3 separate regions of the Homo sapiens genome follow, and regions 2 and 3 are each linked to region 1. Evidence: promoter capture Hi-C in 16 types of primary human blood cells and fetal thymus (Javierre and others, 2016). All regions are on one chromosome and are shown on one strand. The core of a region is centred on a gene start or on the middle of the fragment in contact, and the rest is flanking DNA. Distances in the headings are between cores, read along the strand shown. Region 1 holds the start of TMEM128 (transmembrane protein 128). Region 2 overlaps CRMP1 (collapsin response mediator protein 1). Region 3 overlaps EVC (EvC ciliary complex subunit 1).

The links. The method cuts DNA at HindIII sites, captures the fragments that hold promoters and counts their contacts. A CHiCAGO score of 5 or more calls a contact.
Region 2: a contact is called between a fragment that was not itself captured here and the fragment with the promoter of TMEM128 in region 1, in 2 of 17 cell types (naive B cells and total B cells). The highest score is 7.3, in naive B cells.
Region 3: a contact is called between a fragment that was not itself captured here and the fragment with the promoter of TMEM128 in region 1, in 1 of 17 cell types (naive B cells). The highest score is 12.3, in naive B cells.

The regions. Positions count from the first base shown.
Region 1 is chr4:4,246,583-4,250,208 of GRCh38, reverse strand. It overlaps TMEM128 (transmembrane protein 128), which reads left to right and starts at 1,986. Exons shown (of 5, transcript NM_001297551.2): 1 at 1,986-2,103. The coding sequence starts at 2,007. RefSeq lists enhancers at 1,606-1,715, 2,018-2,644. The HindIII fragment of the contact is 7,732 bases long and covers 1-3,626 here.
Region 2 is chr4:5,821,661-5,825,286 of GRCh38, reverse strand. It overlaps CRMP1 (collapsin response mediator protein 1), which reads left to right. Exons shown (of 14, transcript NM_001014809.3): 14 at 3,436-3,626. The coding sequence ends at 3,527. It also overlaps a transcript of EVC not described here. Among named protein-coding and RNA genes, the nearest start is that of CRMP1, 70 kb to the left of the region's middle. The HindIII fragment of the contact is 5,333 bases long and covers 1-3,626 here.
Region 3 is chr4:5,804,727-5,808,352 of GRCh38, reverse strand. EVC (EvC ciliary complex subunit 1) reads right to left here. Exons shown (of 21, transcript NM_153717.3): 17 at 3,512-3,623; 18 at 26-152. Among named protein-coding and RNA genes, the nearest start is that of CRMP1, 87 kb to the left of the region's middle. The HindIII fragment of the contact is 3,449 bases long and covers 652-3,626 here.

The DNA.
Region 1 (3,626 bases), core at 737-3,236:
AACCTGATCTGACCTGAACATACCATGTATGGGAACCTGGGATAGCGGCGATGCTCTTGGGAGTATTCAGTTACCACGGAGGCCCTGCACTGACCCTTTTTCGAGGAGACAATCAACAGAAGATTGTATTTGATGGGACAAATTCACTTCCTGTTAACAAGGCTTCTAACCCCGTACGAGAGAGAAGAGAGGGCAAAGACTTCAGTTGACTTTGAATAAATGAATCCAGTTCTTTAGGAGTCTTGAAAGAAAAAAAAAACAGAAAAAAAAAAACAGGATAAAGGAGGTATTGTTTAGAAAGGCCATATGATCCACCCAGCTGTTAAATCCTGTGCTCCGAAGGGGGAAGAAAGGCTGAAGAAATGATAAATCAGTAGGGATTTGGTATTTCTCTCTTTTTTTTAATTTTTTTTATTTTTATTTTTGAGAGGGAATCTCACTCTGTTGCCCAAGCTGGAGTGCAGTGGCAGGATCACTGCAGCCTCCTTCTCCCAGGTTCAAGTGATTGTCCTGCCTCAGCCTCCAGAGTAGCTGGGATTACAGGTGCCGGCCACCATTCCCGGCTAACTTTTGTATTTTTAGTAGAGACGGGGTTTCGCCATGTTGGCCAGGCTGGTCTCAAACGCCTGACCTTGTGATCCGCCCGCCTCGGCCTCGCAAAGTGTTGGGATTACAGGCGTGAGCCACCGCGCGCGGCTGGCACTCTTTTCTTGAGTATTTCTTATTACATTCCTTTTACAAACACCCCAACACATCGAAGATATTAAACAGTGCCTACTAATTCAAATTTTACTTCCTATGTAGCTGGCTCTCCACCCCTGTATTCAACTCACCTGAAACCACTCTCCCTGCTCTCCCACACTGCAGCAGAATAAACTGCCCTTTATATGTACAGTGTTTCTATTATGCCCCATGTACAGTGTTTTTATTATGGCACTGTATTGAAGCTGCTTCCTCTACTAGATTCTTCTGTCCTCACCATTTTATCACATGCAGCTGCTCAGAAAATGTTGGCTGCATTGATGAAATGCTTTCATACATTTACAAATAGAGTTTTCTTGTAATATACCTCTGTGGTTTTCTTTGGACAAGGAGCTCCTCACGTGCAAGGCCATGTCTTACTCATCTTTATCTCCACTGCTAGCATGGTGCCTAACAGCTCCTACCAAATAGTAGATGCTCAGTAAACGTTTGCGTGGCTAAGCCCACCATTTCTCAGCACATGACACGCTGGGAAACGGCTGGGAGAGTAATACGCGGGATTATTGACGAAGAAAAAGTTGTGAACTCGTAACACACAGTTTGTGGGCGTGAGCAGTGTGGAAAACCGCAGTTTGCTGGGAAAGCAATTTAGTTCCCTCGGTTCAGGCTGGGAGGATTTTTCACAAGTGGCGAGGAGGAGGCTCACATGAACCACATACAGGTACTTCTCACTGAAACGCACAACAAATCTAGAGCCAAGTGTAATAACGAAACGGGCCCCAAGAAGTTTATTTAATGCCCAGGGCCCCCAAGTGGTCACTGCCAGGCTCTAGCATCCTGTCCAGCAGGCCTTTCTCCTCCTTTCAAGTCTTGCTGGACGACTCCTGAAAAGCAAAAGTAGGAAAAAAACTGGGGGCTGAGAGTGGAAGGCTGGACAGAGGGTATGTCTCCTGCTCTGGCACCCGGAAGCCTGCGAGGGCTTCGGAAGCGCAGCGTCTCACGGTCGCGCATCCCGGCCCTGGACGCATCCAGCGGCAGCGGTAATCCTGGTCCTCCTGGGCTTCCGTAGGTCGGAATAAACTTGGGAACTCTTCCACCGGCAAAGCTCAGTGTTTTAAAATTCAAATCACACTTGCCGACATGAGAGCGGAACCTTTGAGGCCGACTCCACCCTAGCTGCTCGCTAACTAAACAGCGAAGAGAACACAGTCTCCAATCCAAACGCCAGGAGGTCCAGACCCGGAGCGGACGCCGGAAGCGCTGTGTCTGACGTCACTTCCGTCGCATTTCGGGGCGGTACCAAGATGGACTCCTCGCGGGCCCGGCAGCAGCTCCGGCGGCGATTCCTCCTCCTGCCGGACGCCGAGGCCCAGCTGGACCGCGAGGGTGACGCCGGGCCGGGTGAGGCGCGCACCAAGCCGCCCCGAGGTTCTCAGAGGCGAGGCGTCGGAAAACGGCCGGCCTCCGGCAGCCCTGGCCCAGTCTGGAAGGACTGAGTTTCGGCTTTGCAAGTCGAATATTTAATGTCAGGGAAGATCCTTAGAATCGCGGAGTGCTGTGCATCGTCATTTCAGCTGCGCTTCAGAATTCTCTGGAGAGCTGATTTGACACCTATTTGGAAATAGCGATTAAAATTAAAAATACCCACCAGTTTTAAGTCTTAAGGATTTACCAGAAACATGCGTGTACCGCAGTGTACAATGATGTGCGCAGTGTTTCACTTCAGGATTGCTTGTAATAGCGAATTACTGGAAATATCTGCCTTGCCCGTCAGCAGAAAGCTGTTTAAGTAAATTTGGGTATATGTATACCTGACACATCAGGTCGACTCGTATGTACCAATGGGGATGATTTTCAAAGGGAAGTGTGGAACACTATGGTATGCCGCCATTTGGGTACAAAACAGGTAACTTGTGATGTATGTTCACCTGTGAATGCATAGAATATGGAAGAATTCAGTAGAAATTGTAAGTGGTGGTTGCTTCTGGGGATTAGATCTGAGGTTAAGGATGGGAGACAGATACTTCATTTTGGATATTTTTTATCTCATATGTTTTAAAACCACGTCCATTTATTACCTTTTAAAATTAAAAACACGAATAACCTCATGCCCAGGCATGATGATGTATACATTTTGAGGATATCCCAGAATATTACGAACATGCTTCCCAGGGTTTCCGATGGTCATCTAAAGGCCCAAAACCTCAGATGTGGACCATTGATTCTCACGTGAACCTAGAGGGCATGTCAGAATCCCCGGAAAACTTAATAGAAATCATCCATCTGACCCAACCCCCATCCACCCATTCTTTCAGATTGCGTTCCAGACAGGAAAAATGTCTTGTCCATCACCTGTCTAGACAGTGCTGTGCTGGAACTAGAGCTCTGGTGTGCCGTTTCCACTTTTGAGCTGTGTTTAAAGTAACTAAAATATTTAGTTATAGGCTGGGCAGGGTAGCTCACGCCTGTAATCCCAGCACTTTGAGAGGCTGAGGCGGGCTGATCACGAGGTCAGGAGTTCGAGACCAACCTGGCCAAATAGAGCAGCCTGGCCAAGATGGTGAAACCCCGTCTCTACTAAAAATACAAAAATTAGCCCGGCGTGGTGGCAGGCGCCTGTAATCCCAGGTACTCGGGAGGCTGAGGCAGGAGAATTGCTTGAACCCGGGAGGCGGTGGTTGCAGTGAGCCGAGATCAAACCATTCCACTCCAACCCGGGCGACAGAGGAAGACTCCGACTCAAAAAAAAAAAATTTAGTTATAAAAGTGTTCTTGGAAGACCACAAGTCCAGTTCATGCGCTAATGTTTGCCTTTGGCATTTTTCCTAATTAACAAGACTAATTACTTTCCTAGAAGAAATGTGAAACATAATATTAAAATTCTTACATTTCCAGGTGACATTGTTATTTCCGAAAGACGATGA
Region 2 (3,626 bases), core at 555-3,054, 1.6 Mb before region 1:
CAACATGGTGGTACCTGATGTGGGTTTACAAAGAGAGGTACCAAAATTGTCCCAGTGCTCATCCTTACACACATTTGGGGACACTTTCACACTCTTCCTCATGAAAGTAAACATGGAGTGGTGGGGATGAACAAGAGATGGGAGTAGCTGCCATTTGCAGGGCATGTGCTCTGTGTAAGTCTTTAGCCTGTTCACCCACTGCAGTGTACTAAGCACTTTCATAACCCATGATTTTATTTTATCCTCACTACTCCATAAAGTAACATTATACCCTATTTATTTAAAGAGGAAACGGAAGCCCCAAGAAATCCAGTGTCAAAATACCAGGACTTGGTGCTCAACAAATGTGTGGGAACAAAATTAGATGTTGACCTGATCCCTCCTGACTTTCTTAAGGTCTCAGGGCAGTGTATCTGTGATTTGGTGAGATGGCCACATGAGGGCAGGCACGCACACGTTGAGAAAGTTGAACTGGAATTTTGTCCTGCAAACTCTTTGAGGCGTTGCATGGGTTGCACACCGTGCTGGGTACTAAGAGTATGGTGATTTTTTTTCTTAGAAGGCCGGATAGTAAATACTTTAGGCTTTGTAAGCTAAGAGGCAACATCTAGGATGTCAACATCTAGGATGTTATATTCAATAGCCATTTGAAAATGTACAAACTATTCTCAGGTCATGGATCGTACAGAAACAGGCGGTGGGCCGGATTTGGTCAATGGACCCGTTTGCTAATTCCTGGTCAGGAAAGGCGATATGCTTAGCAAAAGAGAGAGTGGAAGGGGCAAAGAGAGAGAGAGAGAGAGGATGACGTGTGAATTCAGATTGTGTGGTGGCAGAACCTCTTATCCATTCAGGAAGTGTCTGATTCAGTGATTATGCCGAGGAGGCATGAATCAAGGAGGCCTCCCCATTCATCTCACTCTCCATAAGACTTTGATGGAAGAGCTTCCAGTGTTTCATATTTTTGCACAAAATGGACCCTAAATAGAATGCTAAAAGTCATGTGATGCTCAATCAGCAAACCAGGGATTGGCTTCATCCTGGGAAAAAGCTATCTGGGTGCAACAAGACACAAGCTCTCAAGGAGTTTGCAAACTGGACCACTGTTCTGGAGTTATGCAATTAAACACTGCACAATTGCAATTAAACATGGACAGAAAATCCTCCTCCCCGTTGTTCTTAGAACAAGAATAACAATGAAGTTAAAAGCCACCTGGAAGGGCCCCTCCTCACCCTTGTTCTCTCAGTTTCACTCTTAGTCCTCCTGAGGCCCACAGCACCACTGCTGTCAGCCAGCCTCTTGGCAGGTTGATAGGTGACTTCATTTGGTACCAACAACACAGATGCTTTCCAACATCATAACAACCTCACAGATGCCCTTTTTAATATCTGCGTATGTTACGTTATAGAGCTGTACCATGAGTTAGTGTCTGTTTTCGTCCATTTACATTGCTATAAAGGATTACCTGAGGCTGGGTAATTAAAGAGGTTTACTTGGCTCACGGCTCTGCAGGCTGTACAAGCAGCACGGTGCCAGCGTCTGCTTCTGGTGAGGGCCTCAGGCTACTTCCAGCATGGCAGAAGGCGAAGGAGAGCTAGCGTGTGCAGAGATCACATGGCAACAGAGGAAGAAGGCAGAGGTGCTCTTTAACAACCAGTTCTTCCGAGAGCTAATAGAGCAAGAATTTACTCATTACTGTAAGGCTGACACCAAGCCATTCATGAGTGGTCTGTCCTTCATGACCCAAACCCCTCCCATTAGGCCCCACCTCCAACTTTGGGATCAAATTTCAACACGAAGTTTTGGGGGACAAAAGTCCAAACCATATTAGTGTCCTTTTTTCCAGCAGGTATTTTCAAAGTACAGACATGCAACCAGCAAGGTACAGATGGTTGTAAGGAAAAAGTTACTAAGTGCTAGGCCTGATTCCAGGCCTTTAGGGGAGACTTGTATTGCAAGAAGACATATTGTCTACCAGTGAAACAATGGGAGAAAAGAAAAGTCACTACTGTGAACCAAATTCTTAGTGGCTTACATAGACAAATCATGTAATGTTGGAGTTGGAAGGGGCTCATCTAGTCTACTGTTCTTATTGTGCAGAAAAGGAAATGAGGCCAAGGGAGTGGGGTGGTGTCTTACTCCAAATTGCCCAAATTCAAGGCATGATTAGCACTGAAACTTGAGTCTCCTTCCTGTTGCAGGTGACAACTACCTGGGGCCAGTGTTCTGCAGCTAGTAAAAAAAATTCACCAAGACAGTTGTCGGTAAAGAAAGTCAGATGTATTAGAAAAAGTATGAAAGGGTACAGTGGGTAGGTCAGCAAGAAAGGAGCCGACTGCAAGGAAACAAAGGCTTGCTGGAGATTTTATAGGATGGTGCTTGTGCTGTGTGCCGAAGAGGGCTTTGTGCAGTACTGATAATGCTGTGGTTGCAGTGAGCTAACTTACTTACGTTTTTCTGTTAGCTGAGGATCTGGTGATAAGTTGAGTACAGGAAGGCTGTGTTGTAGACCATGAAGAAAGGCAGACTTACAGCTTATTTGCTTTCTCTTTTTGATTTTCCTCAGTTCCGCCGGCTCAACTTCCCCTCCCTGATAAGGACTCTATCCTTCCCACCTTTCAGCATTATCCACCCTTCATGATTTACTCATTTAATAAATATTTGTTGAGCTCCAGGCACTGGGTTTGCTGCTAGAATTTTACATCTTTATGCAAGAGAATAGGTAAAAGTAGAATGGATGGTTGGTTTTGAAAGATTAAAATTAAGAACCTCTGCACACCACCCCCCCCCCCTTCAGATCCACCTATCGCCAATGAGGGAAGTAAATCCAGCTTGCGGAGTTCACATGCACATGCACACACATATGCACATGCATATACAAATGTGTACACACACAATATGTAAAATACCTTTGGAGTGTGGGACAGTGTGCCTAAGATCATGGGCTTTGAAAACCAACCAGTTTGGGCTTCAATCCTGGCTTCCCCACCCAACACCTGTGTCCCGCAAGACACGTGGCCTGAACCTCAAATTGCTCACCCGTAAGTTGGGAGTACAAACACCCCCTTCATAGTATGATTGTGTGCCCTAAATGCAGTAACATGTTAAAGCACCAAATGTGCGCCTGCACACAGTAGGCACTCAGTAAGTGTTTGATCACCTGTCTCAGGAATGTCGGATTTTACTGGGGATTTTGACAAGAACACCACAAGGTGGTCAGGGCTGAAGGTGGGGGGAGCCCAGGGACTGAGGGGCACAGAAGAGGGAGCAGTGGACTCTGTGGAGGCCAGGGAGGCTTCCCATGGCTGGTCCTGGACTGAGCCCTGAATGAAGGTGGGTCCAGTGGAGTGCATGGCAGAGTACATGGCCTCCAGGAGCAGCGTGGAACTGATGCTAACAGATCCCATCCAGCAGCGATTGGCGCTCTCTTTCAGGTGCCCAGATAGATGACAACAATCCCAGGCGCACCGGCCACCGCATCGTGGCGCCCCCTGGTGGCCGCTCCAACATCACCAGCCTCGGTTGAACGTGGATGCGCGGAGGAGCTAGCCTGAAGGATTCTGGGAATCATGTCCATCCCTTTTCCTGTCAGTGTTTTTGAAACCCACAGTTTTAGTTGGTGCTG
Region 3 (3,626 bases), core at 1,127-3,626, 1.6 Mb before region 1:
GAAGGTCCAGTTCTGTAACTTGTACCTGTAGCTGGGTCTCCAGCTGGGCTTCCAGAAGGTCCATGACTCCTGCCTGCTGCTGCTGGGCGTGCAGACGCATCTGCTGGTGCACTGGGAACTGGGCCAGGAACCTCTTCTGCTGGGACAGCATCCTGGGGGGAGGAAGGCAGGCAGGCTGGCAGGGAGGAAGGAAGGGAGGGAGGGAGGGAGGGAGGGAGGGAGAAGGAAGGCAGGGAGGCTGCTGATCCCTGGGAGCCCCAAGAGGGGCCTGGCCATCGGGGGCACCATTCACAGCAGCCCCAGCTCCAGTCCCCACAGGCAGGCTGCCTCTCCATCAAAGTGGACGCCCTTTACAACACGGGAGTTTAGAGAGTCCTGCCCACACACTTTGCATGTGATCTTCGGAGGAGCTTCATGACACCAGCAGGACAGAGTAGAAAAGCTGGGGGGAAGAAACCCAGAGAGGTGGGGGCCTCCCTCAGGACACACGTCTGTGAAGTGGCGGAGCAGAAGGTGGCATCTTCTCATGAGAAAACAATCTTTTCCCCAGGGAGGAGCATTCTCCTGAAAGGACCAGAGGCCTACCGGCTACCCATCCCTGAGTTTAAATCTCAGAACTGCCCCGGCCCCTCCCTCGTAAAATGAGAAGCTTCTTGGGATGCAGCCTCTGGGAAATCCCGAATACGGCAGGCAGCCTGTTACTCTCAGAGAGGGGGACAGAGCTGGAGCAGAGGCCGGGTACCTGAGCCCCAGGGCCCACCTCCCTCTCTGGATGCCCTCCGTTCCTAAGCAGTCAGGAACATCCAAATCCAGCCACCCTGTTTCCATTATTGCTCCCTGCCTGCCTCCTTCCCATCTTTTAGGGCAGATTTTCTGAAAGGGGTCGAATTTCTAGACCTGAAGTCAGGGCCACCTTTAGCATGGATAGGCAGCTGTGCGTGTGGAGTGCTCCGAGGTGTGAAAATGCCACCCTGCTCCTACCTCACACTCTTCTGTCCGCCAGTAACACCTTTCCTCTCTGTTTTTGCCCAGCAAATTCCTGTGCACCCTACAAGACGCTGTCATCCATCCCTCCACCTCTCACTCCATTCCTCCCTCCCTCCATCCATCCACTCATTCCTTCATTAAAGTATCTCTGGCCTGCCAGGTGCTGTGCTGGGTTCTGAGACAAAGGTGTGAACAGAGACCCACAGTCCCCGTCCTCAAGGAGCTCTAGTTTGAGTGGCAGGAAGGAGGGTGGACAGTAAACAAATCACTCATTTGGCACAGCTGAGGCCAGCACTCCAGACTCCAGCCTCTCTCACACCTTAAAGGAGGCCGAGTTCCACTAGAAACCGTGCCTATGGACATGAATAGACGTTCTTAAAAAAAAGACACACAAATGGCCAAGAAGCATGTGAAAAAACTCTGAGCATCACCCATCATCAGAGGAATGCAAGTTAAAGCCACAAGGAGATATCATCTTACCCCAGTTAGAATGGCTATCACTAAAAAGACAAACTATAACACTTGGTGAGGATGTGGAGAAAAGGGAACACTTATGCACCATTGGTGGGAATGTATATTAGTGCAGCCTGTATGGAAAACAGCATGATTTCTCAAAGAACTAAAAATAGAATGACCATTTGATCCAGCAATCCCACTACTGGGTATCTACCCAAAGGAAAATAAATCAGTATATCAGAAAGATACCTGCTCTCGTGTGTTCATTGCATTATTCACAATAGCAAAGATATGGAATCAACCTAAGTGTCCATCAATGGAGGACTGGATAAGGAAAATGTGGTCCATATACACAATGGAATACTACTCAGCCATAAAAAAGAATGAAATCATGTCTTTTACAGCAACGTGGATGGAACTGGAGGCCATTTTCTTAAGTGAAACAACTCAGAAACAGAAATATCTCATATTTTCAGTTATGAGTGGGAGCTCAATAATGTGTGCACATGGACACAGCGAGTAGAATGACAGGCTGGGCGCAGTGGCTCACACCTGTAATCCCAGCACCGAGAGGCCAAGGCGGGTGAATCACCTGAGGTCAGGAGTTTGAGACCGGCCTGGCCAACATGGTAAAACCCCATCTCTACTAAAAATACAAAAAAATTAGCTGGGCATGGTGGTGCGCGCCTGTAATCCCAGCTACTCGGGAGACTGAGGCAAGAGAATCGCTTGAACCCGGGAGGCGGAGGTTGCAGTGAGCTGAGATTGCACCACTGCATTCCAGCCTGGGCAACAGAGCAAGACTCTGTCTCAAAAAAAAAAAAGAGAGTGGAAGGATGGACAACAGAGACACAGAAGGGCGGCGGGACGATGGGAGGGGAGTGGATGATGAGAAATTAATGGGTAAAACGTACACTATTTGGGTGATGGTTACAATAAAGGCTCAGACTTCACCACTATTCAATATAGCTATGTCACAAAATTGTACTGTCACTCCTTCAAAAAAAAAAAAAAAAAAGAAAAGAAACTGCCTCTGAATTCAAGGAGGTGTGACAGGGAGGGAAGGGCATCAACAGCCACATATAAGCTGTGAGTCACAGATGGGCTCATGCACCCCCTTTCCCAACACTGGGCTTCCTTTTCCTCTTCCATAAAGCAGGTTGGCCCAGCTGGCTGCTGAGGCTCCTTCTCTTGGATCACCTGGGTCAAAGTGAAGCCCTTGGACCACATCTATCAGTATCCCTTGGTGCGGAGAGGTGCGGCTAAAATTCAGATTCTTGGGCTCTCCTCACACTTTCTGAGCCTGAGTCTCCAGGTGTGGGCCCAGAACCTGCAAGTTTCGCAGGAAAGCCGAGTGATGCTTCTGCGCCCCACATCTGAGGACTTGCCAGACTGTAGTTTGCTGGGAGCCTGGAAAGTTAGGGCAAGTTCGGTCTGTGCAAACCCTGCAGCAGGGCGTTTCCTGACACCTGTTACTGAGCAGCTTCCTAAGAACAGCCCGGTCGGCGGGCCCCTTCGCTCAGGCCTTGTGAGGCACAGAGAAGCCAGGAGAGCCAAGCCTGCCTTCTGACCTCCAGCACTGTGGGACAGGCAGTCTACATGGCTTGGGCTGTTACATTTGCACTCATTGTGATGGTCACAGTTACAGGAAGCAGCCACCTCTTCCTCACTTCCCTGCCCTCTCACTGTGCCTCTGCGGGTCACCTCCCAGGTAAACAACCTGCCCCCAAATCCTCGTCAAGGTCTGCTTCTGAGAATGCCCAAAGTATGAGAGGGTAGGCGCGTGTCTAAACATGGCTTAGACCTGTGTCCGGGCTGTGAATGCCACTTAAACCTGGGAATGAAGCTGCCACCACACCATGACCTGCTCACTCATTTGTGCCAGGTGCCACTCCAGGTGCTGCATGGAGGGCAGAGACCAGGACAGAGGCAGCGGGTGAGGAAGGCCGATGGCCCCCAAGTCCACGGGCAATGCACGCGACGGCACCTGCTGACGGCACCACAGAGAGATATGCCATGTGAATGGGGTAGAGAACAGCCCTACGTGGGACCTCAGTTGGGACCTCACCTCTGGTGGACCGCCTGGGAGGTCTCATGAGCGCCACCTGCCGTCCTGCTGCCCGACGAAGGGTTGCTGAGTTCTTGCTTTTTCCGCAGTTTGTAATTTTCCATCCTCTCACCTA